Linked DNA regions of Homo sapiens: all the other regions are linked to region 1. The links are contacts of gene promoters, found by promoter capture Hi-C in blood cells and fetal thymus (Javierre and others, 2016). All regions are on one chromosome and are shown on one strand. Each heading gives the region's core, a stretch centred on a gene start or on the middle of the fragment in contact. The rest is flanking DNA. Distances are from core to core; before and after follow the strand shown. Region 1 holds the start of NCOA3 (nuclear receptor coactivator 3). Region 2 overlaps ZMYND8 (zinc finger MYND-type containing 8). Region 3 overlaps ZMYND8 (zinc finger MYND-type containing 8). Region 4 overlaps ZMYND8 (zinc finger MYND-type containing 8).

Region 1 (2,700 bases), core at 48-2,547:
AATGGGTTATTTGAATTTTCTGGGAAAATACTGTTCTAGGCAGAGGAAATAGCAAGTGCACGATCTTTAAGGCCAGAGTGTGCTAAGCACGTTGGAGAGGCCGAGTCCATTGTAGCTGAGTTACAGAAGTGAGTGGAAGAGAAGAAGGTGATGAGTTTAGAGAGGGAAGGGCAGGGCAAGAGACGGGCTGTATGGGGCTTTGCAGGTTACTGCAAGAATTTTGCAGGAGGGACAGAGACTGACTTGGTTCTTACCAGGATTCCTCTGGCTGCTGTGTTGAGTATAGACTCTAAGAGGAAAGAGTGGAAGCAGGCAGAACACTGAGGAGGCTGTTGCAGTGGTCCAGGTGGGAAATGATGGTGCTGACCGTGGAGGTGGTAAGTGGTCAGATTATTCTATTTTATTTACACTCAACACATCTAATACTGACTCAATATTATCTAACATACAGTCCACATTGAAATTGCCCCCCAAATTCTTTTTACATAAAAAAATCATCCTGAATCCAATCAAGTCTCACCTATTGCTTTTGGTTTTCACCTCTTTCATGCTGTCATATTTTAAAAGACTCCAGGCTAGATGTTGTGTAGAATGTCCCACATTCTGAATTCGTTTATTTTTTCAAGTAAGCTTTTTGTGTGTATGTGGCAAGAATACGACAGAGGTAGCAATATGCTTTCCCCACTGCATCATATTAGGAGACACATAACAACAGTCCTGACCCATTATTGGTGGTGCTAAGTTCGATCACTTGGTAAGGGGGTGCCTGCCAGATCTTTCCATTGTAAAGCAAGCTGTTCTTTATTGTAAGTCATAAATACGCTGTGGGATGATACTTCGGGACTAAATATACCCTGAATATACTGCTGCCCAACAACATTTCACCCAGTGACTTTAGCAGCTAAGGAACAGCCTCGTGGCTTCCGACCTTGTGCCTCAGTTCGCTCATCTGAAAAATGAGGATGATCATGGTCCCTACCGGATGCTTGTTTTGAGGATCCGTGCTTGGCATACCAGAAACGCTCCACAAATGTTAGGTATTACTGGACGAAGGCAAATATGAAAAAAATTAAGGGCAGGGCTAGGACTGCATTCCGGTTCTCCGGATCCCGAGGGAGCTCCCAGTCGATGCTGGGCGAAAGCGGCCGCACGAGCCCACGTCGCCACGCCCTCCGCCGCGGAAGCCAGGGTGGGGGTCGCTGGAACCCTAGGCCGGCCGCGCAAGGCCCCCTGGGACCGGTAGTGCTGGGCGTGGCCTCGGGACTACATATCCCAGTGGCCCCCGTGCGGCGACTTTAGCTGCTGCTGTCTCAGCCGCTCCACAGCGACGGCAGCGGCTGCGGCTTAGTCGGTGGCGGCCGGCGGCGGCTGCGGGCTGAGCGGCGAGTTTCCGATTTAAAGCTGAGCTGCGAGGAAAATGGCGGCGGGAGGTGAGTGGAGATAAAGGAGGAGGCGGTGGCGGGCGAGGGGGTGGAGTGCGAGGCGGAGGGAAGAGGGGCGAGTTCCCCAGGCTGCGAGAGCCAGCGGCTTCAGATCTGCCAAGGCACTGAGGGGCGCGCCGGCCGGGGGACGCGCTGAGGTAGTTTCGGGGTGTCGGGGCCGCGCCGCTTCCCCTCAGCCCGGGGGGCGGCCCGCGGCGGTAGGAGCTGAGACGAAGCTGGGTGGCAGTCCGCTTGGGGATCCGAGGGGGTCCCCGCGCGGAGGGGTCACCCGAGGAGTTTGCGGGGGGACTGCAGGGGCCCACTTTCCCCTTCTGTCCCTAAAGTTTTTTCTTCCTCTTGCCTCCCCCAGCCCTTTTGAAAGCTCCCCGCGTCGTCCTCCTGCTGCCCCGGCTCCTTAGCAGCTTCTGGGACGCACGGGAGGGAAAAGCCGCGGGGACCCCCCCCACCCCAGCCTCCCAGCCGGGTGAGATTTGGTTGCTGTGTTTCCTCCTCACTTGGGCATTTAAAAAATATTTTAACACGAATTGTCCGCGGAATTTTCATGTTGGGCTCGGGTAGCTTCTTAGTTTTCTCGGTAAAAAGGCGTTTTACTACCTCTGGTGTGAAGGCTGGGAAATGGCAAGTGGGAAGTTGGTTGATAAAATTAGGAGTTTGGCTGTCTTTATTACTACTTTTTTTTTTTTTTTGCTCTCCCCATCTCTCATTTTATGAACATCGACCCAGTTCGTCATGGTTTAAATAAACTGCTTGTCTTGTACCTGCCTTAACAAAACTAGCCATGGGTCGTTGGGAGACTTAGTTGCTTCCTAGGCAGTTTGAGGGCATCTAGGGTGGAAAAGTTAACCGAGAGAGCGAGCATCTACCTCACTGGCAGGATCTGGGATTCCCAAATGGAATGACACGGAAGCTATGAGATTCTCTCGAAGTCGAAACTTTTTTCCCCCTCCCGAATGCGAAGACTTCCTTTTTGCAATATTTGAGCAGGGCTTCAAAACCAACCTGTTTTTGTTATTAAGCCTGTACGGTAAAGAAACAGGAAGGAGAGTACCAGCTGTCTTGCTGCAGTGGTTTTAAATGGAGTTGAATGAGATGCGTGAGAGTGGTAGTAGTATTGAGTAAGATTGCTGCATCTCTTTGATTTAAATGCCTGGCCTCGGATCCACCTAACTGATCCCTGGCTGCAAAAAAGCTTCAGTATTTGTTGCAGCAGGTTGTTGAGAAGGTGATTGGAGGAATAAAAATCTTAGGTCTTCAGCGA
Region 2 (2,700 bases), core at 27-2,526, 190 kb before region 1:
TCTGAGGTCAGGAGTTCGAGACCAGACTGGCCAACATGGTGAAACCTCATCTCTACTAAAAATACAAAAAACTAGCTGGGTGTGGTGGCACGTGCCTATAGTCCCAGCTACTTGGGAGGCTGAGGCAGGAGAATCGATTGAGCCCAGGAGGCAGGGGTTGCAGTGAGCTGAGATCGCACGACTGCACTCCAGCCTGGGCAACAGAGCAAGACTCCGTCTCAAAAAAATTAATAATAAATAAAGTGTATCTAGCACCATTAATGGACCAATATTCCTCCCAAAAAAAGATTTAATATACACATCAATGTTTGCATAAACCTAGAATATTCCTGGATGAACACAAAAGTACAACAAAGCTCGACTTGGGGACTACTGGTTGCCTTGGGAGGGGTGCCTGCAGGGAGTCCAGGGAAGGGGAGTCCAGGGAAGGATTATTTTCCACTCTATACCCTTGTGTACTTATTTATCATGTGACTGGATGACGTTACGAAAATAAAGAAAATTGGCCAGGTGCGGTGGCTCACGCCTGTAATCCCAGCACCTTGGGAGGCTGAGGTTAGCAGATCGCTTGAGGTCAGGAGTTCGAGACCAGACTGGCCAAGATGGTAAAATCCTGTCTCTACTAAAAATACAAAAATCAGCCAGGTGTGGTGGTACGCTCCAGTAGTCCCAACTACTAGGGAGGCTGAAGCGGGAGAATCACTTGGCGCCAGGAGGCAGAGGTTGCAGTGAGCCAAGATTGCACCACTGCACTCCAGCCTGGGCGAAAGAGAGAGACTCCATCTTTAAAAACAAAACAAAACAAAAAGAATGCAAATTATCAGGCCCCACCCCAGATCTACAGAATCAGAAACTCTGGGGTAGGGCCCAGCAATCTGTTTTAATAAGTCCTCCCGAAGACTGGGAGGTACACTAGTTTGAGGAACGCTAGGGTATGTGTATGTGTTTAGGAGATGGGGTCTGAGTTCTCAACTCTACACAATCCTGTTCCACACTGGCGAGCCAGAGCCAATGGCCTCTACTTCCAGACATTATTTGAGGGGTTGGTTCAGGACTCAGGATAGAAGCTAAGCAAGGGAGTCAGGCTGGAGAATGAGGCTAAACAGGAAACAACCCCAGGCAAGTCTCCACCTCTCAGGGCCTCAGGGCCTCACCTGCAAAATGGGAAGAGCCGGGAGAAAGGGACTAGACTAGAAGTTCTTGTTTAAAGACCAGACAGTGCTCCAGGGACCCTTGAACAGGCCATCACTGTATACAGGAGTGCAATTTCTAGGGACATGGAGTCATAGCTTCCTTCACCTTTGCAAAGGTGTCCTCAGCTCCAATGATTAAAAACTTCAGGGCCCCCAGAGGATGTTAAAAGTCCCTCTTCAACATTACTTAATTTAATGAGAAAGTGGGAAAAAAAATCACTAGACAGTAATATACTTGTAAGCGATTTAGAGTTGGCAAGGGACTATCACCCAAGCCCACCAGGAAACAAAGGGGGAAACTGAGGTTCTGCTCAGCAAGAGGTAGGGGGAGGTGGGTCCTAGCCCAAGCATGCCCACACCTGAGAGTATTCCAAACCTTCTAGTTTCAGCAAAACATAAAAACCCCAATTCTGTTTGCTGTTACAAACACCAATTCCCCCTGGAGTTGATGAGAGTTCAGTGACTGTATCCAAGGGGTCGAAATTTGATAGGTTCCAAACAACAGACACATCAGTCAACAGCAGGAGATTTCAATGAAGGGTTGTAGGGAGAAGAATTAGGAAATGCCTGCTGGATTCGGTATCCTTCGGAGGGATGAGACAGCAGGGGGGCATTATTACTTAAATGCCCCCCACTCCAGTGGGGGCTGGGCCTCTGGTGATGATGGACTGGTGGGTGTACACCTGACTGTAGCCGTGGTACCCAGGCTCCATAAGGACCCTTTCCAGAAAGCTGAGTCAATTTTTTCTTCTTTAATGATTTAATTCTGACAAGGATGTATTGCCCAGTGCATTTCATCTATAAACTTTGAACAATGACAAACAGCCACTGTCGACTGAACCACTGGTTCACCCTGGATCTGAAAGACTTTTCTGCTGCCTTTTCTGAGGGAGTAGGACCTGTGACCCCGCCCGGCTGGCTCACTCACAACCCTCTGCCTCTCACCCATCCCCCAAAAATGAGTGGTTCTGAATGAGTTAACGTGGGTGAGGGAGGAATGCAGCCTTATGGAGAGGACAGAGCAGTGACTCAGGAAAACAGCTTGGCATGGAGCGGAAAGCAGCAGAATTTTCCTCTCCTTGTGACATTTTGCTGAAATTGTAACAATATGGGAAGGTCTACTGGGTATTAAGAACCAGGCATGAGGCCGGGCACGGTGGCTCACGCCTGTAATCCCAGCACTTTGGGAGGCCAAGGTGGGCAGATCACAAGGTCAGGAGTTCGAGACCAGCCTGACCAACATGGTGAAACCCCGTCTCTACTAAAAATACAAAAATTAGCTGAATGTGATGGTGAGCACCTATAATCCCAGCTACTCAGGAGGCTGAGGCAGGAAAATTGCTTGAACCCAGGAGGCGGAGGTTGCAGTAAGCCGAGATCATGCCATTGTACTCCAGCCTGGGCAACAGAACGAGACTTTGTCTCAAAAAAAAAAAAAAAAGGAACCAAGCATATGAGGAGATCCTTCCCAAGCCTGTGATCCACCAGAAATCATCCTGGAGCTCAG
Region 3 (2,700 bases), core at 143-2,642, 160 kb before region 1:
GCCCTTCAGGCATTTGACTTGCAACCCTTGGAATACAGGTCATGGTTAAGTACAAAGGTTTAAAATCTAGGGACATTAAACACTCTTATCAAAAAAAAAAAAAAAGGTTTAAAAATCAAAGGGCCAGCCAGGCACGGTGGCTCACGCCTGTAATCCCAGCACTTTGGGAGGCCAAGGCGGGTGGATCACCTGAGGTCAGGAATTCGAGACCAGCCTGGCCAACACAGTGAAACCCTGTCTCTACTAAAAATACAAAAATTAGCCGGGCGTGGTGGCAGGCGCCTGTAACCCCAGCTACACCGGAGGCTGAGACACGAGAATCAATTGAATCCAGGAGGCGGAGGCTGCAGTAAGCCGAGATAGGCACTCCAGCCTGGGTGATGGAGGGAGACTCTGTCTCAAAAAAATAAATAAATAAAATAAAATAAAATAAATCAAAGGGCCGGGAGTGGTGGCTCACGCCTGTAAACCTAGCACTTTGGAAAGCCGAGGTAGGTGGATCCCTTGAGCCCACGAGTTCAAGAGCAGCCTGGGCAACACGGCAATAACCCTCTATATAATTAATAAATAAATAAAGATAAAACCTGACCCTAGTTCCATCCCTACTTTGACACTTCCTTAATTCATCTGAGCCTCAGTTTCCTTAACTGTAAAATGGGAATGACACACCCACATCATGGAATTAGTATGAAAATTAAATGAAGTAATTTGCATATCATGCCATGAAGTACTCAGAAAATATTAGCCACGCAAACACACCTGGCATCGAGATGGCACTTCCCATTGATGTAGGAGCATCTTTCAGCAGGATCATTACCCTCGGACACAAATGTCAACCTGACATCTTGAAAGCTCGAAAGCTTTGTCTCCTGAGAGCTAAAACGCTCTACTAAATGCCAAGGCTGGCATAATGGCAATGACTGGCTTGGGAATTACTCAGTTAATAAGTGAGTATGTGTCAAGGGGAGAGGGGCGTAAAAATTGAAATTCAGTTAGAGAAACTGAAAGGTCACATGGACTAGATGTAGGAATAGGACTGAGGAATTCTGCACCAATTATTGTCAGAGTTTCTAAGTTTCCCAAGAAGAGGACGGCTCAGCACCTGTTTTCTAAGTGCAAGTAGAGAAAAACACGTTGCCAGGTTCATAAGATGGTAGAGTGGTCACCTTATCTCCTTTTGAGGACCCATCTCTTTCCCAGTGGGGACAGCGTTGGTGGGTCCAGGTGTCCAGGATATTAGCCCTTCCCTGGCCAGAGACGTGCACATGGACTTTGCGCTATTGTCCCTGAGGAGGCTCCGGGCTGGCTCTACTCCCGAGAGTGGCCTGGACCTCCAGCCTTCCCACCAATGCAGTGGGAGCAGCTTCACACCAACAGACCACCTGCAGTCCATCCCTTTCCTGCTCAGAACCGAAGGACCCTGACCCGGGTCATGTCACAGGGGAACAGAGTCCCTAAACTTCCCAAGAAAAGCAGGCTGGAGGAAAAAAAAAAACATGTTCACTGAGCCTGGAGATCATCCCACTGCGGACGCTGAGATCACTGGGACTGAACAAGAGATAAGGCTTCATCCCGGTCAGCTTCACAGACATCATATTTTCACCATGCAGACTTCAGCTCTGGGAACCTCAGCAACCCCAATCTTAACCCCAGGACTTTGAATATTAAGCCAAGTGGCTCCGGCAGAAAGGTGCTCTGGAAACAGAAGCTACCACCACCGCCACTCACTATGGGGCACGAGAGCTCAGTTTCACATAACGACAACCACCCCAGAGAATCCTTGGGGAAAGTTCTCCCTCAAAACAAGGTGATCCCTTCCCCTCAATGATTCCCTACCAAAGCAAGAATTCCCAAGCACCCGAGAAAATCCTTCCAAACACCTGCAGAATGGCTTCTTCAAATGTCACAGAGGCCAACAGGACAGGAAGCTTGCAGGGCAGTGCAAAGCACTGGACTCCTAGATGGAGAGAAGCAAATTCCTATCTGGTCCCGAGCCTGCCTGCTGGGCAACCCTACACAATTATTTCTTTTTTTTTTTTTTTTTGTGAGACAGAGTCTCGCTCTGTCACCCAGGCTGGAGTGCAGTGGCGTGATCTTGGCTCACTGCAAGCTCTGCCTCCCAGGTTCATGCCATTTTCCTGCCTCAACCTCCCAAGTAGCTAGGACTACAGGCGCCCACCTCCACGCCCGGCTAATTTTTTGTATTTTTAGTAGAGACGGGGTTTCACTGTGTTGGCCAAAATGGTCTCGATCTCCTGACCTTGTGATCCGCCCGCCTCGGCCTCCCAAAGTGCTGGGATTACAGGCATGAGCCACAGTGCCCGGCCCACAATTCTTCACTGTGCCCCCTCTAAGCAGGGGGTCTTCCGGGCATGGTTTCCTCATCTGCCTCCAGACCTTCTTCCTAGAGGCTGCAAGTGGGGGAAATGGCAGAACAGTCATTCTCACCACCTGACAGACCTAGCAATAAAAATTCACTGTCTCTAAGTTGATGCAAATCATAGCTAACATTTTTGAGCAGCCACCCTGTCCCAAGAACCATTCTTTTTTGAGACGGAGTCTCACTCTGTCGCCCAGGCTGGAGTGCAGTGGCGCAATCTCTGCTCACTGCAAGCTCCGCCTCCCGGGTTCACGCCATTCTCCTGCCTCAGCCTCCTGAGTAGCTGGGACTACAGGCACCCGCGACCACGCCTGGCTAAT
Region 4 (2,700 bases), core at 175-2,674, 210 kb before region 1:
CCTTGAAGGTTCCATCATCAGATCTGGGACATAAATAAACTGTGTTGTGCTCAGCTTCCTCATTGAAATGGATTTTCCTAACTCCCATGGGAAGGAGCACAAAGCTCCCCTTGCTGGGTGTTATAGGAGGTTTCACTTTGCAACCAGTCAGAATTTTCAATCCCCCTCAACGTTTTACTATGTCATTGCCCAATTGATATGGTTTGGCTCTGTGTCCCCACCCAACCTCATCTCAAATTTTAATCCCTACATGTCAAGGGAGGAACCTGGTGGGAGGTGACTGGATTATGGGGGTGGTTTCCCCCATCCTGTTCTCGTGATAGTGAGTGAGTTCTCACAAGATCTTGTGGTTTAAAAGTGTTTGGCACTTCCCACCCCCCTTCTCCTGCTGCCATGTAAAACGTGCCTTGCTTCCCCTTCGCCTTCCACCATCATTTTAAGTTTCCTGAGGGCTCCCTAGCCATGCAGAACTGTGAGTCAATTAAACCTCTTTTCTGGCGAGCCACAGTGGCTCATGCCTGTAATCCCACCATATTGGGAGGCCGAGGCTGGAGGATCACTTGAGGTCAGGAGTTTGAGACCAGCCTGGCCAACATGGTGAAACCCCATCTCTACTAAAAATACAAAAAAAAAAATAGCCAGTGCGGTGGCGGGAGCCTGTAATCCCAGCTACTGGGGAGGCAGAGGCACGAGAATCACTTGAACCTGGGAGGCAGAGGTTGCAGTGAGCCAACATCACACCACTGCACTCCAGCCTGGGTGACAGAGCAAGTCTCCATCTCAGAAAAACAAACAAACAAACAAAAAAAAAAACCTCTTTTCTTCATAAATTACTCAGTCTCAGGTAATATCTTTACAATAGTGTGAAAACAGACTAATGTACCAATTAAACTCCTCTGGGACATACAGTGCTTACTACGACAGAGAATTAACTGAATGGCATCATACCTCATGTGTGATTTACACATACTTGAATTTGGGGATGCAAGGAGGCCCAAAGAATACATCAGGTACCTAAAAAGCTAAGCTATTAACAGAACAAAACATATGTCATTACGTTCATTTACGCGTATACCAAGAGGAACTTTCTTCTTACCCCTGGCTGTTTCATTTTCTGAATGGCAAACTTGAGCAGGTAGGATAACTGTTCAATGGTGAGCATTGTCATGGCTTTACTCTGGGTCTCGATGCATTCTGCTACTGTAATTTTCTACAAAGTCAAAGTCATACATAAACGTCCGGTTAGAAAAAAGAAATTACCATCCATGTACTGATTTCTATTTTTTCAGTCAACTGACAGACAAAAAGCAATTCTCATCCCAATGAGACTTGTTGTTTCACTTAGCAAAGACTCCTGGAACAAAATGTACCAGATCAGTGGGTAACTATTAAAAAGCGTATCAATCTATTTCCTTATCAGGAAGCATTTTTAGCTCAGGAAGACGACATGATCTGAGAAAAGATGTGGCTAAACAGGGGCCTGAAAAATCATCATTATTATAACCTTTAGGTTTCAAGAATGGGATATGAAAGCAAAGGCCAGGTGGGCGTGGTGGCTCACGCCTGTAATCCCAGCACTTGGGGAGGCTGAGGTGGGTAGATTGCTTGAGCCCCAGTGTTGGAGACCAGCCTGGCAACATGATGAAACTCCATCTCTACAAAAAAATACAAAAACTAGCCAGGCATGGTGGCACGCATCCGTAGTCCCAGCTACTTGGTAGGCTGAGGTGGGAGGATGGGTTGAGCCTGGGAGGCGGAGGCTGCAGTGAACCATGATTGTGCCACTGCACTCTAGCCTGGGTGACAGAGCGAGACCCTGTCTCAAAAATATGTATGTATAAAAAAAGAAAGTAAAGGCCACGGATGATTTCAGGGTGATTACTTCACAGGATGGGTACTTATCAACCATTTATCCTGATCCTCTTAAGGTTCTGGGCTGTCATTCAGGAAACTGACAAGGCATTAATTCAATGACATCACTGATGGAAAGGGACAGACTTCCCTGCAGAAAGATTACAAGGGAAAGCAGTGGACTAATAATACGTATGACTTCATTGTCCATCTCCCTTACTTTGAACCCACCTAAGGCACTGTGTCAAAGTACACAAGGAGCACAACCTAACCTAACTGTCTATCTCCATGGGTAATAGATATCAGCTCCTAAGGGAAATTCCCATCAAAGAAGAGACCCAAAGGAACGTCTGAAACCAGATTCTGCTATGTAAATCTGGTACTACATCTTAAGGCTTCAGAATCCTTATGTAGCAGCAACAACAAAAATAGCAAATTCTGATCATGTCAGGAAACACTCTTTAACCATCTGTGTAGGGAGAGCTGAGAAAAGTTTTCTCCAATTAATTTGGATTCTGTTTCCATTTTTCACATCTCTGGGGCCTCCAAAAGGAACTCTCAGATGTGTCTCGTTGGTTGTCGAGGAAAAGGCCAACACAAGAGTCACTCAGAAGCTGAAAACAGTGCATGACGCATGCATCTATTTGCTTAGCTACCACAGCCTTGCAACGTTCAGTCTTCCCAGTTGACTGCCGTAACAACTCATCCCTGGAAGAAATTCAGAGCCCCGAATCTTAGACACAGAGCACCTGTTTGTTTGATTCTGGTTTGTTTCCAGGTAACTTATCCATGGCAAACACTTGGGCTGCCTGCCCAACTATCATTCATTCCCTCTCACCCCCCACTCCT

The links. Contacts are between HindIII fragments. The CHiCAGO score rates a contact against its expected background, and 5 or more counts as called.
Region 2: a contact is called between a fragment that was not itself captured here and the fragment with the promoter of NCOA3 in region 1, in 3 of 17 cell types (activated CD4 T cells, total B cells and naive B cells). The highest score is 10.5, in activated CD4 T cells.
Region 3: a fragment that was not itself captured here is called in contact with the fragment with the promoter of NCOA3 in region 1 in 1 of 17 cell types (total B cells); the score reaches 5.4 in total B cells.
Region 4: a contact is called between a fragment that was not itself captured here and the fragment with the promoter of NCOA3 in region 1, in 4 of 17 cell types (activated CD4 T cells, naive B cells, total B cells and 1 more). The highest score is 10.7, in activated CD4 T cells.

Annotation. Positions count from the first base shown.
Region 1 is chr20:47,500,590-47,503,289 of GRCh38, forward strand. It overlaps NCOA3 (nuclear receptor coactivator 3), which reads left to right and starts at 1,298. Exons shown (of 23, transcript NM_181659.3): 1 at 1,298-1,430. RefSeq lists a cis regulatory region at 214-286 and a silencer at 1,538-1,657. The HindIII fragment of the contact is 2,001 bases long and covers 629-2,629 here.
Region 2 is chr20:47,313,713-47,316,412 of GRCh38, forward strand. All of the region lies in intron 2 of ZMYND8 (zinc finger MYND-type containing 8), which reads right to left. Among named protein-coding and RNA genes, the nearest start is that of ZMYND8, 42 kb to the right of the region's middle. The HindIII fragment of the contact is 5,242 bases long and covers 1-2,700 here.
Region 3 is chr20:47,336,945-47,339,644 of GRCh38, forward strand. The region is part of intron 2 of ZMYND8 (zinc finger MYND-type containing 8); the gene reads right to left. Among named protein-coding and RNA genes, the nearest start is that of ZMYND8, 18 kb to the right of the region's middle. RefSeq lists enhancers at 1-436, 2,441-2,700. The HindIII fragment of the contact is 1,068 bases long and covers 859-1,926 here.
Region 4 is chr20:47,293,570-47,296,269 of GRCh38, forward strand. It overlaps ZMYND8 (zinc finger MYND-type containing 8), which reads right to left. Exons shown (of 23, transcript NM_001281775.3): 5 at 1,097-1,210. Among named protein-coding and RNA genes, the nearest start is that of ZMYND8, 62 kb to the right of the region's middle. The HindIII fragment of the contact is 4,787 bases long and covers 1-2,700 here.